Linked DNA regions of Homo sapiens: region 2 is linked to region 1. Evidence: promoter capture Hi-C in human tissues and cell types (Jung and others, 2019). All regions are on one chromosome and are shown on one strand. Each heading gives the region's core, a stretch centred on a gene start or on the middle of the fragment in contact. The rest is flanking DNA. Distances are from core to core; before and after follow the strand shown.

The links. The method cuts DNA at HindIII sites, captures the fragments that hold promoters and counts their contacts. A contact is called where the count stands out against the background at its distance.
Region 2: a fragment that was not itself captured here is called in contact with the fragment with the promoter of FGFBP3 in region 1 in 1 of the 25 tissues and cell types used here (liver).

The regions. Positions count from the first base shown.
Region 1 is chr10:91,906,682-91,911,810 of GRCh38, reverse strand. It overlaps FGFBP3 (fibroblast growth factor binding protein 3), which reads left to right and starts at 2,325. Exons shown (of 2, transcript NM_152429.5): 1 at 2,325-2,413; 2 at 2,764-5,129. The coding sequence starts at 2,842. The coding sequence ends at 3,618. FGFBP3-AS1 (FGFBP3 antisense RNA 1) reads right to left here and starts at 3,682. Exons shown (of 2, transcript NR_199602.1): 1 at 3,562-3,682; 2 at 2,463-2,914. RefSeq lists an enhancer at 2,685-2,979 and a silencer at 2,883-3,452. The HindIII fragment of the contact is 15,807 bases long and covers 1-5,129 here.
Region 2 is chr10:91,740,439-91,745,567 of GRCh38, reverse strand. No RefSeq gene overlaps it. Among named protein-coding and RNA genes, the nearest start is that of TNKS2-DT, 55 kb to the left of the region's middle. The HindIII fragment of the contact is 3,672 bases long and covers 483-4,154 here.

The DNA.
Region 1 (5,129 bases), core at 1,076-3,575:
AGTATTGTTAACAGTGCCTTTTTGATGGAATTCACACTTTTTGGCTGTCAACTTGTGCCATATACACACAAAATTTTGTGGAAGGCAGTTTTAATTTTTTGAAGAACATCTGTCAAAATTTAAGAAAACAAATGTATAAAATTCCATTTTTTCCAGTGTTTAGCATTTCTAGTAAGCAGTGAGGTTTTTTGTTTGACATACAGTGATGATGGCATTATTGACAAGCTATACATGAGACTGCAGATTATACTGAATCATGTTAAATGTACAGAAATAAAATATTAGATTTATATCAAACTTTCGCATTTGAACCAGTGGGGAAAACCCCACAGAAATCAGTAAGTTAACATTTCAATGTCTTTCTTATTTGACTAAGTGGAAAGAGAGTCTTTAAAATGTATAACCTGCCATTATGTAATTTGGTTTCATTTTATTCTACCTGTTGTGTGAGTTTAGTATATTTAATTTACTTTGTGTTACTCTACATACTGTTTATTTTTGTTACAGTTTTTAATTGAAGATGGACTCTGAAAGTGGTATAGGACCAGTGTCTTATTAATATCATTAATATATTAAGAGGAGCCACACAAAACCCATGACAAAATGAATGGAAATATTCTTTCTAAAAATTTAGAAAATTTTATACTTTTGCATTTATTATGTAAAATTATTTGTTTTACAATATCAAAATTTTTCGTTTAAAGAAAAAAATGCCATGAAACATTTGAACTGATGAGCCACAGAACTTCAGTTGAAATTTTTTTCACTTTTTAGCATGCTAAATATACATCTCAGTTTAAATATTCTGTTTAATGGCCATTTATAAATTCAAGCACTACCACTGGTCAGTTTTGTGTGATAGAATAAAAATATGTTACCTGCAGTGTAAGTATAGCACACTGTCAAATTCTTTTCCTTAAGGTGCACAGTAAATGTACAGATAGTTATAGGCCACTGTTTTTGCAATGTAGTACATTTCTAATCTATTATTCCTAACCTATTATAACTGTTTGCAGAGAGAAAATAATTGAATTTTTCTAATAATCTGTAAAATTATGCTAACTTCTACAAGTAGGCTTCTAAATAAAAATTTTAAAAAGAGCAAAAAAAAAAAAAAAGAAAGAAAAAACAGCTTTGCTTGGTCAGCACTTTGAGAGGCTGAGGCAGGTGGCTCATCTCAGGTCAGGAGTTCGATACCAGACTGGGCAACATGGTGAAACCCCTTCTCCACTAAAAATTAGCTGGGTGTTGTGGCAGGCACCTGTAATTCCAGCTACTGGGGAGGCTGAGGCAGGTGAATCGCTTGAACCGGGAAGGCAGAGGTTGCAGTGAGCCGAGATAGCACCACTGCGCTCCAGCCTGGGTGACAGAGTGAGCTCCCGTCTCAAAACAAACAAACAAACAAACAAACAAACAAACCCCCGCACACACACACAATCCCCCCCTCCAGAAAAAGCAGCTTTGCTTAAATGTAACATTTTCAAGATTCAAGAACACATTCATTCTCTCTCTCTTTTTTTTTTTTTTTGAGAGGCAGTCTCGCCCTGTCCCGGGTTCAAGTGATTCTCCTGCCTCAGCCTCCTGAGTAGCTGGGATTACAGGCATCTGCCACCACGCCTGGCTAATTTTTGTATTTTTAGTAGAGACGGGATTTCACCAGGCCAGGCTGGTCTCACATTCTTAACTATTATACCATTTCAATTGGTAATCTTACCGTTCAACTACTATAATACAAATAATTTTTTTAAACTTCTAATTTTTGGAGGACCCTTATAACTGATTTCTAATACCTAAAAATAATAAAAAGCCCAAATGTCCACTCCTGGGTGAACTGCTGGGCACTATTGTATGTTAATAAACTAGGATATTATATTTTTATTAGTAGTAACAATTATTAAGATTGAGAGTCTTAAGAAAGGCTATTGGAAATAATAGGTAAAAATGTAGAACTCAGAATATGAGAAATAGAATGTAAATGATATAATTGTGTAAAAAATGCCTAGTTTAGAATACTGAAGTTTGTTTTGTTTCATTTTATTTAACTTTTAAAACTTAGATCTTTTGTTTAATTTTTATTTTTTGGATGGTTAAGTACATGAAAGAAGAAAAACTTGGTTAATTTTGCCTGATTATTTTAAACATTGGAAGCAAAATACAAGATTTGTATTTCATACTACAGGACCGCTTCCATCATCCATCTGGAGAGACAGAGAGAGAGAGGGAGAGAGAGAGAGAAGCGCGGCGGTGATAAGTCTCCCAGTGTGAGAGAAATCGGGGAGGGGCGAAGAAGGGTAGGCCTCTTCTGTTCCATTGATACCACGTTCATTCACAGGGAGCCGGCTAAAACAGACTACTCCCCCGTGCAGTCGTTCCCTCTACCCTAATAAGGCTTTGGCGCCTCTCCCAGAACTCGGTAAGTTCAAAGTGTAGTAAAGTGCATGTTTCCAAGGAATCATCTGAAATGATTTTGTAGATAGTTTATTGCAGGTTGGAGAAGGGAGAAAATGAAGGAAGGGGTAGAGGGGGCAATTATCACGCATCGTTTTGCTATCGTATTTGCAAGGGGAAGAAAATCTCAATGCATACATGGTTCGAAAGTGATTATTTAGACAGTAAGCAGTTTCCCCAGGAAAGCTCCTCAGAGGGTCTCCTCGCAGGCTGCAGATTCTAGAAAGTCTGCGGAAGAGTAGTTCGCAGGTGCATGTGTCTGGGCGAAGCGCTGCGTGTGGCTCAGTTGGTGGCAGTCTCTGCCTCTGTCCGCAGGTCCTGGGGAATGCTCTTTGCCTGGTCCAGCCCCGACAAACGTGGTCTGAGAACAGCGGAGCGCGGAAACCGCGGAGCATGACTCCTCCGAAGCTGCGAGCGTCGCTGTCGCCGTCGCTGCTGCTGCTGCTGAGTGGTTGCCTCCTCGCGGCTGCTCGGAGGGAGAAAGGGGCGGCTAGCAACGTGGCGGAGCCGGTCCCCGGGCCCACTGGCGGCTCCTCGGGTCGCTTCCTCAGCCCCGAGCAGCACGCGTGCAGCTGGCAGCTCCTGCTGCCCGCCCCGGAGGCCGCAGCGGGCAGCGAGCTGGCGCTGCGCTGCCAGAGCCCGGACGGGGCGCGCCACCAGTGCGCCTACCGCGGGCATCCGGAGCGCTGCGCAGCCTACGCCGCTCGCCGCGCGCACTTCTGGAAGCAGGTGCTGGGAGGGCTGCGCAAGAAGCGGAGGCCCTGTCACGACCCCGCGCCGCTCCAGGCCCGCTTGTGCGCGGGCAAGAAGGGCCACGGCGCCGAGCTGCGGCTAGTGCCCCGCGCGTCCCCGCCCGCACGCCCCACCGTCGCGGGATTCGCGGGGGAGTCCAAGCCCCGGGCCCGGAACCGGGGGCGGACCCGGGAGCGTGCGTCCGGCCCAGCCGCTGGGACCCCGCCTCCCCAAAGCGCACCGCCCAAAGAAAACCCCTCAGAGAGGAAGACCAACGAGGGCAAGAGGAAGGCGGCCTTGGTCCCCAACGAGGAGCGACCCATGGGGACCGGGCCCGACCCCGACGGGCTGGACGGGAACGCGGAGCTCACGGAGACCTACTGCGCTGAGAAGTGGCACTCCCTCTGCAACTTCTTTGTCAATTTCTGGAACGGCTGAGACTGCCTGCCGGCTTAGGGAGGGTTGATGGGGGAGGCGTGGGGAAGGGAAAGCTAAGGGCGTCTTAGACCGGGGGGTACTGTGATAGAGATTGGGGAGAAGTCCAGGTTCTCGAATGGGGGTGGGGGCAAGGGTAAGGGTGAGATGCTTGGGATGAGAGTGTAAGGGGTATGGAGAATCTCTGGGATAGCAGAGAAGTTAAAAATTTTGAAAAGTCTCAGTCCTGATTAAGAGCAGGAAAAATAATGGAAACAGAAATAGGCGTACTTTAAATGTGCAAAAACTGGAGACTGGGGAGAGAAATCGATGCAGAGGGAGGCTGAGAATAAGGGGGAGATAGAGTGACTAAAGTGATGTGAGTCCCATGTGGGGAGGGGGATGCAATGTTTATTGTTTAACATTTCTATTAAATGCAGCCATGAGCAATTGCCAACCTGAGCCAGGTTGAATCAATGTCTTCTCACTTAATCAGCTAACAAGACTGCAGACTTTTTTTCCGTTTCTGAATTGGTATAAACTTGGATGCGGCGTGGTGGGTGTCATAGATAACCTCTATAGGGACAGAAGCCTCACAGGTCAAAACTGGCTCCAAGGAAAGTTTTGCAGAATGATTTCCTTTCCATTCTTTTAGAAGAGCTACCTTTTTTTTTTTTTTTCCCTGACAGGGTCTGGCTTGCCCAGGCTGGAGTGCGGTGGCTAGTCACAGGTGTAATAATAGGCACTGCAGTCTCCAACTCCTGGCCTCAAGGGATCCTCACATCTTAGCCTCCAGAATAGCTAGGAGTAGGAGTAGCTGGGACTACAAGCATGCACAGCTGCACTTGGCTTAGAAGTGCTACTTTATTTTTATTTTTGAGACAGGGTCTTGTGTCATCCAGACTGGAGCAGTGGTGCAATTATGGCTCACTGCGGCCTCGACATTCCAGTCTCAAGTGATCCTCTGCCTCAGCCTCCGGAGTAGCCAGGACTACAGGGGTGTGCCACTAGAAGTGCTACTTTTTAACGAAATGGTGACTAATGTTCTGGAACTTTCCCATTAACCTTCTGCATTTAGAAGGAATTATAGATGTTGAGTGCTCCAGTAAACAGTGATTCTCTTTATATCTGATTTTTTTTTTTAAACAGCTAAAATGTAAGTATGTATCTCAGAGTCATTTTGACCATTATGGAAGTTGTATCTCTCTGTTTCATGTAACTAATTATTAATATATTTCATTTTTAGTGTGATGTAATGAGAGACTGTGTGTGTATGTTAGGTGCTCAATAAAAACTGTATGGTTAGATTTAAAGAAGTGGCAAGGCAATGGAAATTCTACCTGCATTTGATCTACTTCCAAGTACACCTTGAATTAAGTTCTTAAACACATCTTGAATTGCTGGGAAAAGACAGAAACTAAGAAGTTGACATAAAGCAAGAGTCACAAACTGGCAGCCACCTGGCCTTATCATTGTTCTATTTGATTTGCACCCTGGTTCTCTTTCTTTTTCCCTTCCTCCCCACCTTCCTCCCA
Region 2 (5,129 bases), core at 1,069-3,568, 170 kb after region 1:
TTTTAGACATTTTTCCTAGAGTTGGGTTTCTGCTCAGGCTCGTCTCACACTCAGGTTCAAGCGATAATCCTGCCTCAGCCTCTCAAAGCGCTAGGATTACAGGCATGAGCCGCTGCATCTGGCTGAGTAGAGATTCTTTACCACTAGGTCACTGCCGCCTTTGCAGCTCTAGGTGGCACCTTAAGCCCAGGTTCACCTCAGCTCTAGTAAATGATGGGAACAATGACGGTCCAGAATCGGGGAGGTATCAGAGAGGGATATCCCGGCAGTGTAGGAATGCCGGCCAGGGGTTTGTGCCCTGGGGACCTGTGGAACGTACCTCCTACGGCATGGTGCTGTTGAATGGCCACTCTAATTTGGCGCCTCCTTCAGCTAAATTACAGAGCATAGTTTTCAGGGCCGGGCATAGCATTCCCATCTCCACCTTTTACTGTCTGTCCTCAGGGATATTTCTTCCTTCAGGCAATTGCAATGCTTCCTGTGCGTTAAGGCAGGGACGGGCCTCCTGCCAGGGAAACCGAGTTGATGGGGAAGCTGGTTGTCCACTTGAGCTCACTTTTTGCAGTGTAGAAACCATGAGTTGGCAGGAAATTTTCCTTTCTTTCTTTTCTTTTCCTTTTTTTTTTTTTTTTTTTTGACAGTGTCTGGCCCTGTTGCGCAGGCTTCAGTGCAGTGGCGCGATCTCGGCTCCCTGCAGCCTCCGCCTCCCGGGTTCTAGCAATTCTCCTCCTTCAGCCTCCTGCGTAGCTGGGATTACAGGCGTGCACCACCACACACAGCTTAATTTTTATATTTTTAGTAGAGATGAGGTTTCACCATGTTGGCCAGACTGGTCTGGAACTCCTGGCCTCAAGCGATCCGCCTGCCTAGGCCTCCCAACATGTTGGGATTACAGACGTGAGCCCGTGCACCCTGGAGAAAATTTTTATTTACTTATTTATTAATTATTATTTTTTATTATTATACTTTAAGTTCTAGGGTACATGTGCACAACATGCAGGCTTGTTACATATGTATACATGTGCCATGTTGGTGTGCTGCACCCATTAACTCGTCATTTACATTAGATGTTCCTCCTAATGCTATCCCTATTCTGAAACAGGAAAAATTTTCTATGCGCTGGATGTCAGACAAAATGGAGGGATGGGCTTTGTGGCTGTGGAAGTCTGATTTCCTCACCATCTGCTCAGAGTTGTTTCACTTCTCTGTGGCCTTGGGAACTGTCTCGTCTTTCCATCTGAGTTCTGGGATATTGCTGATGATAATCTCGGTGCTGTACATTTGTTTTTTGTTTTCTGCCGTGGGAAGTGAAGCCACCTTGCTTCTACATCACCATTTTTGAACCGAAAGCCTTTTTCCTCTCCAGGATAGTTATTTTTAATAGCACATAATTTTTCTTATGTTCCGTTATCTTTATAAGATCATGAATTGTTCTAGAATTTTAGGAATGAGTTAAAAGATCTTTAACTAAAGAATGGATTTTCTTTTCACTATCAGCAAACTTTATACAGCAAAAATAAAAATCATGTTAGTATTTTTTAGGGGATAACTTTGGCTTTCCAAAAGTTAACTCTTGAAACTTTTATTCTAAACTAAAAAATTTTGGTTTGTTAATTTTTTGCACTAGAGATGGCTTTTGATGTAGTAGTTTTATCTTAAAAAAAAAAAACCAACAAACAAATCCAAAAAACAGCTTTATTAAAACAGGTAGGTGGAACTTTTTCTAAACACTATTTAACTATGATGCAGCCAAGCTTTTTAAAAGTAATATTTAAAATCTTCGTGATTCTGTTATTAAAGCAAAACAAAACAAAAATGAAGATTGTATCTCTAAGCTCATTGCTCTAACTGGTTTGATTCTCTATCTAGAATCTCTGTTCATGGCTGAGTCAGCAATCTCATAACAAGGCCCTTTGTGTATACACCTTTCCTCATAGCTTTGGCTGCCTGTGTGGGAACTCACATAAGAATGTTCATTTCAGCATTCTTTATGGTGGTAGATGGATGAATGCCCTCCTGAGTGCCCATCACTAGAAAAGTGGCTAGGTATAATTTGGAGATTGTATACTATGAGAATAAGGGAAAAAATGAGAAGCAGCTAAATAGATACACATCTGACAATATAGATGAACTTCAAAGCATAGTGCAGAGGGGAGAAAAGATAAATAGAACGATATATAGCACAATGCTATTTAAGTAAATTACAACTATCTTTACCTTTATGCAAAACCATGTGTTTTGCAAGAATACTTACAAGCAAAAAGATATGAATTTAACTCATTGGCATTTGATTTTGGACATATCTGACCTATAAAATCTCACTTTTGAATTTGCCTTTGAAAAAGAGCTGTGAGGGACTAATTTATAACAGATTTTCTATTTTTTTCCCAAACCACAATAAGAAACAAAGAACACCAAGCCCCAAACCAAATAAGAAGTAGAATAAGAAGTTAAATGAGATACATTACACAATACTATTTATATCAATTAAAATTATATGCATACAAAACAGTGTATTTTTCAAGAACATCTATCAACACAAATCAATGTTCAACTCATTGCTGTTGAGGAATGGAAGGAATACTCACATCCCTGTTGGCACGTAATATTAAGCATGGAAATTTAGCGATGGGGAGTGTGGGAAAGGGGTTTGAAGGAAATTCACTGGAATCTAGGCACTGAATTAGATATTTCATATATATTCTATCATTTGATCCTCACAACAGCCCTGTAAGAAGAATTATCTCTGCTTTACAAATAAGAAAACTGAGACCCAGAAAAGCTAATTGTGTTCCTAATGTCACATAGCTCTTTAGTGGCAGAATTGGGACTTAAAATCTTGAGGCATTCTTAGGGAACAGATTAAAAAAGTCTTGGTTATGCTTGAATCTGTGTGACCTAGTTCTCACACAAGACAACCAAGGCTTAAGTAATACTGATGGTGGAAATTATTTATTGTTTTTGTAGCTTGGTATTTTGTATTATATTCTGAGATCGTATGGAAAAATGAAACCTAGAATCTAAAAATAACTTGTGCTTAGAAGCATTACTTTTTTTTCAGTTCTTCCAGCTTTGTGGTACTTTTCCAGGGTCTTTTAAGACATATTTGTTACTCTTTAACTGTGGTAAAAATAGAAAAACTAGTGGTCTGATTTGTACATAACATGCTGCAATCAAACTGAGGTCTTACTCTCCAGTTAGTTACTCATTAAGTAGAGCATATGATAATCAGAAATTTGACTTTGGAATTGATTAAAGTTGAAGCTGGAGCTCTGGATTGCCTATTAAATTCATACCATTGATTCCAGGAGAAGAGAGTTTATAGTAGTTCATTTTTATTGTTTATTATAATGTGATATTGGCATAATGACAGCATGCAAACTTCCAAAATGAGTTTCCTAAGAAAAATGTTTACATTTCTTCTTAAAAGCACTTTATTTTTTCCAGTGTTGTCACTTGCCTTTTTAAAAGCCATTTATAACGAACATTAAACACATCTATATTTAGATTTATAAAGAAATAACCTGTTGAGTCAAATCCTATTCATATTCAGTTTTTATATGCTAAACTTAAAATCTCAATTATAAATTACTAACAATTCAGTTTAATGTTTTTTTTAAAAAAATTCTATTGTTCAGGTAGAGGGCAGGAAAAATGAGGCCAGCCTACAGAAAAGGGAAAATGAGGAATTGCAGTGTTTACGGGTGACAAAAAACATCTTCTTTTAATTAAGAAGAAGAGAAAGAATAGACAAAAAAGAAAAAGAAAAATAAATATTGGAATGACTTGCCATTGGGAAGGAAAAGAAGGGAGTGTAAATTTGGCTCTTGCCTTGTTAAAAACTTTTTCAAAAAATGAGGTGTCTTGGTAAATGTGTGGGTGCAAACTGAGAAACAATCAGAAGTTTGTTATATTTAGATGTTATATTTCCAATGTTACAAACCCATCCTGGAAAAACTTACTCAATGTGTTCTCTGCCAAAGACATCAGCTAATAACGGCAGTAAAGGAAACAGGCAGTGTCCACATTTGGAGAAGAATATAGTCTTCCTTTTACATCATGGGCTAGCATTCTTTTAAAATTAGGGTGCCAAAGTTCCTACTCTCTTCCCTTTGGCATGTTAGAGGCAGCTCACAGAAAGGGTCTTAGGCCTTAGTGATTTCCAAATAGGGAGGGAGAAGGATAGCCCACTAACACCAAAGTAGGGGAAGGAGCATGCTGGCTGCCAGTTTTTGTCACTGAGGTGGGTAGCAGACTGTCATAGTCAGCAGGAAGGTAGGGATTTGTTGGCAATGAATTTTGATATGGCGTGAGTGCTGTTGGTTGCCAAACTACATTCTGATTTAAAACACATATTCTTGATCCTCAGCAAGATGGTTGACTAGACACAGCCAGGCGGAACATGTGTCACTGAGGGACTGAAACATCAGGAAGACCAGTACACTCCAAGCAGATATTTGGGGGGAGGGCATTGAGACAGACACAGACACTAGGCTGAAGGGGGAGTGAGGAGTGGCTCGCTCTTGTCCTGAACCTATGCTCCCCTAGGGGACTTAAGTCTTAGGGGAACTGTCAGACCTGAATAGAGTGGGGCGGTCTTGCTCATGAGACAAGGTCAGTTCAATCTGAGAACCCTCCTGTCTGCTGCCCACTCCTGGGACTCCAGTCTGGCTATATTTGCTCACAGTGCAGCCTCGGATGCACAACTAGGGTGACTCCTGGGAGCCCACATCATAGCACCTGCACTGGCAGATCACATCTGACCATCAGAGAGCTCCAGCAGAGCAGCCCCCACTGATGCACATCAACCCACCCGTGCCCTCCGCCAACCGCAGCCTCCCCTGTGCCACTTTGCTGTCATGAACTTGCCTATGGCCGCACCCCCAACTGCTTTGCCGGTGTGTGTGTGTAGTGGACCTTGCCTCCCCTCCCCTGCCAGCACAGGTGTGCTTGCATCCCACTGCACCACTGCTGCTGTTGTGAGTGGACCTCACATGTCCACTGCTGCACTGCTATTGCCAGTGTGAACATGCACTGAGAAGCCAGTGTGGCCCCATCCTCCAACCAATGCTGCCATTGCTGCTGGCATGAATGAGTGCATAGAGGCTGGCAGTCCTGTGCAGGCCAGC